2 separate regions of the Homo sapiens genome follow, and region 2 is linked to region 1. The links are contacts of gene promoters, found by promoter capture Hi-C in human tissues and cell types (Jung and others, 2019). All regions are on one chromosome and are shown on one strand. The core of a region is centred on a gene start or on the middle of the fragment in contact, and the rest is flanking DNA. Distances in the headings are between cores, read along the strand shown.

Evidence for each region. Contacts are between HindIII fragments. The study calls those that stand out against the background at their distance.
Region 2: a fragment that was not itself captured here is called in contact with the fragment with the promoter of B3GAT1 in region 1 in 4 of the 25 tissues and cell types used here (H1 embryonic stem cells, IMR-90 fibroblasts, dorsolateral prefrontal cortex and 1 more).

What each region holds. Positions count from the first base shown.
Region 1 is chr11:134,409,053-134,414,490 of GRCh38, reverse strand. It overlaps B3GAT1 (beta-1,3-glucuronyltransferase 1), which reads left to right and starts at 2,249. Exons shown (of 6, transcript NM_054025.3): 1 at 2,249-2,684. RefSeq lists an enhancer at 3,101-3,660. The HindIII fragment of the contact is 21,477 bases long and covers 1-5,438 here.
Region 2 is chr11:134,640,383-134,645,820 of GRCh38, reverse strand. LOC105369583 (a long non-coding RNA gene) reads right to left here. Exons shown (of 3, transcript XR_948212.3): 2 at 2,999-4,748; 3 at 1-2,271. Among named protein-coding and RNA genes, the nearest start is that of LINC02706, 69 kb to the left of the region's middle. The HindIII fragment of the contact is 4,286 bases long and covers 1-4,238 here.

The DNA of each region.
Region 1 (5,438 bases), core at 1,000-3,499:
CATTTGTGTGTGTCCATACACTTGGGATGTTGCCAAAACTTCCCACCAAAACGAATGGCAGGCTGTTGTCTCTTCACTGAGCCTTATCATGCTAATTTTAATCTCCTATTATTGTTTTAAATTGGCTCTAAAAATTAATACTAAAAATTCTGTAAACAGAGCCTGGAACTAAGATGCAAGACAGGTCCCTTGAAAGCGGCTTTATTATCACAATTGTTCCTGCCAGAATGCTGAGGTAAAGCCGAGAACCCCTGCAGACAGCATCTCCGAGCCACAGCCCAGCAGGACAAGTCGGACCACAGCCCACTTAGTCCAACCCTCTGTTTCATTACTGAAACCAGCCCTGAGGGGAAGTCTTTTGCTAGTGCCTTCAGAATCGGCCTGAAACCCAGGCCTCCTCGTCGCCATGTCCCTGAGCTCTCTTGAGATCACCCCTCATGGGTGTGTTTCCCTGTTGGTAAAATGAGGGTCTGGAACGAGACAGTCTTCACGGTCATTTCTGTCCTCCCATTTGGTGATTGTGTGACTGCGGCTGGCTGGCTTAGCAGAGGAGGGAGGCAATGTGCCCTCCTGGACGGCCTGGCCCCTCCTTGGTGCTCTCTGGTACCCCCGCCCATCCTGCTTCTGCACCTGCCCTTCCCCTCCCTTCAGCTGGTGTGGAGTCTAAGGAGAAGCAGAGTATGGAGACTAGGAAAATACCAGAGAACACCGACTTAGGAAAGGTCTCTTAGCAGAGTCTAAAAGAGAGGGTTGTAGTAGGGGCAGAAGAAGGCGGAGCAAGGCTGGCTGGGATTCCACTCATTAAGAGAAGGGGGAAATGCTCCTGTACCGCAGCAGGAGGTACTGAGGTTAGATTCAGAGGAAGTTTCTTGCCGGCAAAGGGGGCTGTTAAGCACAACAATGAAAGAGCGCACGACAAGGAGGAGCAGTTATCCCTAGAGATAGTCACTAAGGACACTTTCACATGTCTGTGGCATGATACGGACGGTGAGGTGCCTTCCTCCCCTCAAAATCTTGACCAAAGGGGCTGATTCTGGAGTCTCTGCCCCCTCCCCACCTGCACATCCTCAGTGGGAAGAGCAGGGCCCGGCTTGGTCCTAACAGGGCAGGAAAGCTGATGGAAAAGAGGCCCGTGGTCCTCAGCCCCAGCCCATAGCACGGGGGCACAGCTCTGGTTAAGCAGTGCCTAGCAGTGGGGCTGGAACTGGTTTCCCGGGAAGGAGGGAGACCCTAGAGAAAGTACCGACAGTCCCTGGTCCCGCCGCGAACCCCGCCATGGGAGGTGGCCTTCTCCTGGGGCTGTGAAGAGGACACAGCGGGTGTGGCCCGAATACAGGTGTCCAAGAGCACCGGGAGATGCCAACCTCTAAAACGAGTGCAAGGATGGCTTCAAAGTCTCCGACAAGCTGAAGGAGTATCTGGAATATACAGCTCCACAGAGGCACCCTACCAGTGCACCCACATACGTCCAAGTGCGCGCCCACTCACTGGCCTCCGTCCCCCGCCGACCAACACACCGCGGCAGAGGCCCGGGAAACTCCTGGAGATCCCGCTGCCCCCGGCCTCCCCGCGCCCGTCCGCCCACGCAGGCCTCCCGGGCCTCTCTCCGGAACGCCGGGTGCACCGGCCCGGAAGGGGAGGCTGGGGTGAGGCTGACGCGCGGCGGCTCGAGGTGCCCTTCCACGGGGCAGCAGACCCCGTACCCCGGCACGGCACCGTCCGCCCCCACCGGCCACCTCCCATCCGGGGTGCCTGGAGCCAAGGAAGGAGCCGCATCCCCCACCGGCTTCCCAGCTCGGCCTCTCGGTCCCAGAGCGCCGCCCCCCGCCCTCCTGCAGCAGCCCGGCCGGAAACAATCACCCTTTGAGAGAGGCTGCCAAGCTGGGCGCCAGGAGCAGCCAGGATGGAGGCGGGGTGGAATGGGGGTGCAGGCGGGGGCCGAGCTTTAACTCTCGAGAGCCGAGATCTGGGGGTGCGCTCGGCCCCTGCCCGCCACCCCTGCTCCGCCGCCTGAAGCGGGAGCCGCCTCCGCGGGGGACGGTGCCGGGGGAGGGTGGGGGGCGGTGGGGAGGTGATACCAATCCCGGGGGGGGGTCCCCTCGCCGGCCTCCCTCCTCGCGCCCCCGCCTAGGCTGGCGAGGTTGGTACCGACCATTAGCAGCTCGGGTCCCGCCGGCGCTGGCGCGGGCTCGGGGCGGGGGCGGGGCGGGGGCGGAGAGCGGGTGGGGGCGGGGCGGGAGGCGCCGGCAGAGCCGCGGCGGCACCGGCGCATCCGCCGCCACCTCGGGGACTCTGCGCCGGCCCGGTCGGCTCGGCTCCGGCCGCGCGCCCCCCTCGCCCCTCTCGCCCCCGCGCCCGCTCCCCGCTCCCCCTCCCCGCTCCCCCTCCCCGCCCCCCGCCCCCCGCCTCCCTGCCCGCGCCCTCCCTCCCGCGCGCTCCCAGCCTTCGGCCGCCGCCTCGCTGAGCCCAGAACGAGCCGGGCCGGGGCGGCGGGGCCGGGCGGGGCGGGCGGGCGCGCGGACCCCGCGGCTATGAAGTGGCCCCCGGGGGCCCGGAGCCCGACAGTCCCCGGGGAGGGAGCCGCACGCGGCCCAGGGCAGCGGTCTAGGGGCGCCGGGGCCGGGGCGTAGGGGCCGTTGCCCGCGATGGACCGCACCGGAGACGCTCCGGACTCGTCGCCGCAGGTCAGTGCTCCCCGCGCCCCCGCGGGCGCCCCGCCGCGCACAGAGCCCCTTTCTGCGTCCCCATCGGTGCCCACGCCATGTCCTCCCGGGCGCGCGCTGGGGTGTGTGTGTGTGTGTGTGTGTGTGTGTGTGTGTGCGCTGCGCGCGCTGGGGGCAGCTGGAAAGGGGGCCGAGAACCGAGCTCGGGCTGGGAGGCGCTGCTGCCGAGGGGCTGCGAAACAAAACCCGGCACAGCCTGCCCTCGTCGACCGGGATTAGGGGAAGAGCTGGTTCTCAGCAGCTTCTAACAATCGGCCCGGGCTCTCAGTCGTCAGTTCCCGGCCCCCTCAGCAGGTGGTTTCTGGTGGCCGGATGAGGAGTCAGGGGTCAGTCGTCCCCCACCTCCCCACCCCTGCTGCCCAACAGCGCTCTCTGGATCGCTCTCTGGCTCCTGGGCACTGCCAAGTTAACTCTCTTGAGGGGGCCCGAGCTCTGCGGGGCGCGCTGAGGGACCCAGGGGTAGCAAGGGTGGCAAAGGGCCCTTGGGACCTTCGGTGTAGCAAGGAGGAAGGAGGCGCGACCAGTTCACCACCCTCCCATCTGCACCTGGGCTCAGGTCTGAGGTCCCAATCCCTCCAAAGTCAGAGCACACAACTTCCAGAAAAAGGAGGCTGAGAGTTGAGGCAGGAAATAGAGAAGGAAGCCACCAGGTCCGACAGTGCCAGGGTAAGGAGGTGACAGCCCCGTACCAAGCAGCTAAGGTCAAGAACCACCCCCACATGCACACACATGGGAGCCTTGGCCAACTTCCCTGTCCCCTTCCTCCCCCAGCCAGGCCTAGCTGCATGGATTCTTGTAGAAGCTGGAGCTGAAGGACTCTGGACATACAGGAAGGGGACCTTTACTGACAGTTGCTAGCCCAGTGCATGGGCACCTGCATAGGTGGGGTGCCCAATGGGGCCTAGAGCTTGGGCTGTGTAGCACGCACTGTTGAAAATGTTGGGGTACGGATGTCGTAGGGCCTAGCACTGTGCAATGCCTGGATGTGTTTGTGTGGAAATGGGAGGCACATCACTCCCTAAGTTACTAGGGCTGTGGGGCATGTGGCTGCACAGGACTGTTGTTCTAGGGTTTTCTAAGATTTGTCTTCTGTGCTTATGTCGCCCTACCTCTGCTGGTAGCCACTGCAGAGACTGAGACATTTCCTCCCAGAGTCTGCTCAGTTGGTGACCATTAATGGCCTTACTGGACCAAACATCAAGCCTTCCCTTTCTTCCCATGGGGTGAAGACCCTTTCCCAGGGTCTTCAGACAGACTTCTCACTCTGCCCAGTCCATGCCCAGCACTGCCAAAGGTTCCAGAGCTTAGAGACATTTTCCCTCTTCCCCTTTTCATGGAAGCAGAAATACTTGCTAAGGTTAATGGGACTGGGAGAGTTAATGCATCTGTGCCCCATTCAGCACTGGAGCCAGGAGCTCGCTGTTCCTGTTTCTGTGCCTGACCCCAGGATGCTTGGGGATCACTCCAGGTCCAGGTGAGCTGGAAGCTTGCAGGCGCTGTGTTGAATATGTGTGTGTAGGTTTCTGGTTGGGCAGTTACTCACTGTTCCACCAGAAGCAGGGGGCAGGTAAATCACTGAGGAGATAAGCTCCAGCAACAGGATTGGAGCCCGTGGCGGAGACCAAGGAGCTTCACAGGAGGATGCCCTGGGGCAAGCCCAGTTCCTCAGCTTCGGCTTCTGGGGAGACCTGAAGGTTCTCTTAGTGGTTTCTCGGGGATAAGGGGACCAAGTCAGATATACTTTTCCTAGGTGTGGAGCACAGGGTGATGAGGCCGGCCAGGAGCTGGGAGTGTGAGATGGGGAAGAGGATGCACCAACCGAAAGGCTGAGCGGACAGGAGCATGGTGCTCCATTGTTTCTGGAAGAGAGGGATGAGTGTTCCTCTCTGATGAGAATGGAGAGGAGGAGAGGAACGGGCTCAGGAGGAGGAGGAATCCGAGAGAGAGCCTGACTGAGGCAGAGAAAGAGGCAGTGAGACAAGAGACAAAGGCACGGAGGCGCACTGGCGGACAGCAGAGGGAGGCACACAGGCAGAAGTCAGGGCCTCCCTGACTGAGTGGTGAGTTGGGGCAGGCTGGGGGCCTCCCCCTGTTCCCCTACATCGACCTCAGCAATTGTCCACCCCTGCAGGAGGCCCCTCACTAGAGCAGTTGGACATTCTACTGAGGAAGGTGCTTTCCTGTGGCTCTCAGGAATGTGAGGGTCTTTTAGACAGAAGCCCAAAGGCAGAGGGAGGCCAGGCTATGAGGTCAAGCACATCAAGAGCTTGCAGGGACTTTCAGGGACACCCTTCACCCCTGAGCATCTCACAATGCTGAGGGCTCCTCTCCATCTTCTGGCCCTGCCCCAGCCCTCCTGGTCCTGGAATGCAGGGCAGTGGGGAAGGATGTGGGGTCTGGGGAAACCTGGCACTCAGGAGAAGAAGAGAAGTCATGCACCCCCTCCCCAGGCCCCCAGGCAAAAAGACCTTTGGGGACCCTACTGAAGACTAGCCAGGGGACATGGAAGAAGTGCAGTGGGGACAGGCCCTTGGCCAGGCTGTCTGAGGTCCAGTCTCATCTCCATCTGTGGCTAGCCGAGTAGACTTTGAAAAAAACAGAGCTCTCTAAGCCCCGGCTTCCTGGCAGTCTATAAATTGGGAAACTGTCATCTCACCAGTTTTTAGAAGAAATACTAGATGAATTTTAATTTAATCTATTTATTTTATACACCCT
Region 2 (5,438 bases), core at 846-3,345, 230 kb before region 1:
CCGCAACAATTCTGCCTCAGGCCCCAGTGGAGTCACTGGACTTATCCACCTGTCATGAGCAACTAGACCTCTGGACATCATGAACAAAACAACCCTTTGTAGACATTGGGCAAGAGGGTGAGGAGCTTACTACCAGCATCTAAACCCACTGAGCCATAAGCTGCTGAGCTGATGGGGAAGGCCTGCATCCTCTCCCTAGGCTGCTCCAGCGGGGGCTGCTCCCCCAACAGAGTGGCCAGGCTGTGTGGGCATAATCCGTGCCATTACCCAGCTGGACACTGCTGTCTTAAGAGGTCTCCCAGATATAAGCTTATTAATTTTGTTAATTTTGCAATGACCTAATTATAACTACTTAAAGGCAGAAGATCAGTTCTTGTCATTTGATGGTGAAAATCAGAATTGCTTCCTCTCCAAATCTTTCATTCCTCTTAATACAAATCAGTATTCTCACCATCGCCTACAAGGGCCAAGGCCACCTGGTCTGGGCTCCTGTATGTGTTCAGCCTCAGTCTGAAGCCAGCCCCTGCTGACAACGTGCACACCCACGTGCCTGTCTCCCAAGTCCCACACGTGTGGTTGGATCTGAATCCACAGCAGGTCAAACGTGTCTCTTCTGGTTCATTTCTCACTGGAGCTATCGACAGCTGGTGAAGTGCTCCTGGCATCAAAATTAGCAGATTATTCAAGGAAGATATTAAGTTGGCTCAGATTTCCCGCTTCGAGGCCAAGATATCAATGTTGCATAGCCAGGAGCTCTCGAGTTTATTTGGAGCTGCTTGAAGCTCTAGTTCACAGATAGGCACAGGAAGGGAGAGGTGACTGGGCTTGGAGCTGTCTTCCTCACCCCAGACTGCCAGGCCTGCATCACTGGGGCCATCAGCTCCCCTGACAGGCTCACAGAGTGCTGGGCTTCTGTAGCCATCTGAGGTTTAGATAGACCAGGAGAGAACAGAGCCCGAGAGAGGGGTGGAGCAATGCTTTTGGAGGGCTTCTTATGCAGCAGACACAAGCCTAGAGGCTTGATATCCCCAAGCCCAGTTTGACACGGAGGCTCCGAGGTGCAGAGGGGTTAGGTCACTGGCCCAGGGTCCTGCGTGTCTAGCGTGGTAGAGAGGGTGTAAGGCAGAGGCCTGAGTGCCCGGGCAGCAGGTGCTGCTGTGTGTGTGTGAGGGAGCCAGTCCCCGCGGATCCCTCAGCTGGAGAGGAGTCCCTCCCCAGAACACAGGCAGCTGAGCTGAAACCGGGAACCTCGGAAACCCGGACACAGTTAGGTTAGTGGGAGGTTTTGTTGACTTTTATACTTACTTCATTATAGAAACATCCACATTACATGAGAGTAGAAAGAAGAGTGAAGGGTGTTCAGCCTCAGCCTCTGTACCTCCCCCGGCTCATGCCTGGCTTCTTTCATCTCCCCACCCTCAGATCTCTCCTCAGAGATTTTCTAGCAAATTCCAGGCATTACAATTTTACCTGAAAGTACTTCCTCATGTATTTTTAATAAATAAACATATTTAGCCCATAACTGCACTTCTACAATTATATCTAACAAGATTTCTAACAATTAAACTAATACTTGGCTTATGCTCAAATTTCTTGAGGTTTTCAAAAAAGTGGGGAGAGGGACCTTCTTACAGTCACTGTGTTTCAATCAGGTTTTATCCAGGGCCTACACACACCGGCTGCTTTCTTTACACCTGTCACACCTGCATTCCCCTCTTCCCATGCAGTTTATTCTGTTCAAGAAACTAGGTCATTTATTTCTGCAGAATTTCCCACGTTCTAGATTTAGCCAGGAAGAAATTAAACTTCCATGTAACCAGGGCGCTCAAATCGTCGGGATGAGAGCCTAGTTTGTGGCTGCTTTGCAGGGTTGTTTCTTAGACAGCGCTACAATCTCGTTACGTTGTGTCAGATGTTGTCGTGGGGGCTTTTAGATGTGCCGTCTAAAGTCAGGAAGGAAACAGAGAGTGACTGGTAATTGTCATGACAATGACCAGGACAGTAGTAACTATGCAGTGAGTGATTACCCTGTGCCGGCTCTTTGCTAAATACTTCACAGGCATGTTTTTACTCAAGTCCATTCTCATTTTACAGAGGAGGAAGTTGATGAACAAAAACTAAACAAATGACTTGCCCCAGGGCACACAGCTCGTCATTTGAACCAAAGCTGGAATTCGAACGCAGGTCTGTCTCACTGCAAAGCCGCCCCCTCTTCTCCAACCCTCTGTGGGATTTGGTGACTTGAGTGCAGGGGAGCGTCCACCAGCGACCCTGCGGGACAGAAGATAAGTGAATGGGGAGGTTTTGTTAAGAAAGCCTGGGTGCCAGAGAGACAACCGGGAAAACTCCTTACGACCTGTTTAGGAAAAGCTTTCTCAAAGCGGGAGCTGTTCCGGGGAGGAGGAGAGAGGATGCATGTGGTCTGGGTACGGGTGTGGGGCAGAGAGTGTTGCCCAGCCCTCTCTCATTCGTGACATGCATATGTGGAGAGTGTGAGCACTGCAAGGCACCAGGGCATGCTGGCATCCCTCCATGGGGCTGCTACTTGCTGCCGAAGGGGGCCAGCTGGGGAGGCCCATGGCAGTCCCAGTCTCCACCTGCAAAGGGGAGGAATCCACATCTCAGCCCAGGTGTGAACCAGCTCTCAGAGCAACAGGCTGCCATGGCACCCCCCGTCAGAAAGTCCCAATGTTGGCTGTGTGATTAGTGCTCGAGTATGTAGAGTGTTCAAGCTGGAATGGAGGGAGAAGCCAGGAGCCACGGTGGGAAAGATCATGTCTTCAAGTGACCGAGGGAGCTGAAAAGCGCAGTTTCAGCATCAGAATGATTGTAGCTCTTCCTGGATTCTCCTCCACTGGAAAAAGTGTTGCTGTTGGGATCAGAGGACCTGGCTTTGTGTCTGGTCTTTAGCATTTACTAAACCTTAGAATGCTCATTTAAACTCCCTGAGCTTCCATCTTCCCACCTCCATCATGAGAACAGCACCTTGAGAACTCACTGAATAGGCCCTTCTGCAGGGTCTCCGACGTGCCGCAGGGTCTCCGACGTGCTGCACTGTGCTGGGACCTGGGAAGGAAAGGCTCTGACAGTCATTCTCATTCCTGCCATCTCCCTGATGCAGAAGACAACATTTCAGGAAAGTTTAAATAAAAAAAATATACGTATGAAACTGGTTTACAAACTACTGCTCAATACCAAACCACGAGTGGCAGTACTGCGAGTATTGAGTGAGTCTCAAAGCCTGAGTCTCTCATCCCACACAGTGCTTGGTTCACTGTGGAAGGTGCAGGAAGAGGGAGAGGCTCCTTATCCTGTAGGGGTCACAGTCATGTACAGGAGATGACCACATGCCCAGATGGCAATGACACCTGGCCAGAGGAGGAAAGTGCCGCAATGCAGCTACGAACCAATCCCAAGCTGCCAAGAGGCTGGAATGCTGTGTTCAAAATGGGAGGGGCAGGTGTATCAGGAAGCTTCACCTTTGGATTGTGTCCAGGAGTTTGAGATTTCAACATAGAGTGCCTAGAAAAGTGGGTTTTTAGAGGAGAGAACCTTCTGTCATTCCAGGATTGAGACTGAGAAATGAGCCAGCCTCCTGGAAAGAAGGCTGGAGAAGCCATATTAGGAGCCCAGGGGCTGGGCTCATTTGCACCAAGCCAGAGTGCACCTCAGACCGAGCCGTTGCTGATGTCTGCAGGTGCCAGTTGTTCTCCAGCATTGCCAAGCCTGCCCCCCAACTGACAGGAGGAGCTGGAAGGGGGATCTGGGCAGCAGAGATTCTCGGGAGACTCTGGGCCACACAGCAGGAGATGCTATTTATGGGAAAGAAAAGCTACCCAATGCCTTGGGTGCTGTTTCCAGAAAGTTCTCTGGTCATGGCAACACGTAGGGACCACATTTCGGGAGCATCTATAGAGCATTTTCATTTTTCTGCCCGGGCTTGTGTGTCCGCTGTGATGTCACAAGATGAACCCAGGCAGCCTCCAGCTATGACCTAGTGGTGGTGAGGCTCCAGGAGAAGCCATAGGTCTGAGGGATGACAGTAACCAGGCTCATGCTGTCACCCTCCTAGCAGCACCATCTGCATAGGACTTTCAAGTTTACAGACACCTTTCACCCCTCTCACTTCAGGTGAGCCTCACAATTAGCATGTGAGTCTGTTTTACAGATGAGGAAACTAACATGCAGAGGGCAGTATCTATTCAGGATCATAATAAGGGCAAAGTCAGGAAGCTCTTCTGATTTAAGCCCTGACTTCTATGGGTTATAGGAAACTTGGAAAAGAGAAGCGCTCACGGTCTAAGTTTCCAAACCTAGGATTTCCCCACTTCATTTGCGTGAATGCAAATGGGAAGGCTTCTCTCTGCCAGCGCCAATGACTCATCGCAGAGCCAAGGGACTCCCCAATTTCCCAACAATGCTTGGGGCCCTGGCAGGACCAAAAAAGGCTCAGAGAAGCTAATTCTCGAGAGGGCAAAAGGCCTGTTCGAGGATCCATGGCAGTGGGTAGTGGGTCCAAGGCTTCTGGTTACACAGAGTGTCCTGCTTTCTTCCCAGGATGTCCAGGGGTCTCCCGAGTGAATCTTCTCTTCCACGGCAGCCTACACAGCACTGGTGACATGGATAGCACCTTCCTCCCATGAATCCGGAGCTTCCTGAGGGCAGGCTGAGCTCCTTTTTCCTCTGCACTTCCGCACAGCTGCTCCCAGTCTCCCCATCCCCATCAAACAGCCGTTCTGCACTGTGTCCTATTGGAAATACAGATCAGCCTCATGAATTATGTCCCAACAGCGGCCTGTGGACACTGGGGAAACATTTCTCTTGGGGGCTGCACAGAGGCCTGGGGCTTCCGTGAATTGCCTCAGAGCACGGGGGCCATGCCCTGATGTATGATGGTCCAGCCAGTGCCACGCCTGGCCCCCGAGTCTATCCCCATCTTGGTACCCGCTGCTACCTTCTCCCCTTCCAGACAGAGACCCCAGGGTCAGCATCTCCCTGGGAAGCTTTCTGGAATTCCCCTCCTTCCTGCCTGTCCCTGTGACCCTCTCCTCCTGGGAGTGCCTGCGCCCCTGCTGCCCAGAGCCTCCTGTCCCTGGGGGTCAGAGGCCCCTGCTCAGTGCCCACCGCACAAGTGAAAGGCAATAGGGAGACCTGTGGTGGCTGGCAGTGGCACAGGCAGGTCCCAGGCTGCATGGATCTCATTCCAGCCTGCTCCCACCTCAGCACTCTGTCCCCACAGGGAAGAGGAGAGGGAAGGGGCCACCTTAGACACCTGGAGTGTAGGCACTTCCTCTCCAGGACCTCTGACCTGCCTTTCCCTTGAACTGGAATAATGGTTCACACTCACCAAGCACTCGCTCTGTGTCAGGCACCTGACTAAATTTTCAATACATTCTACATCATTCATCCTTCACCAATAGTCCTATGAAACATTTTAC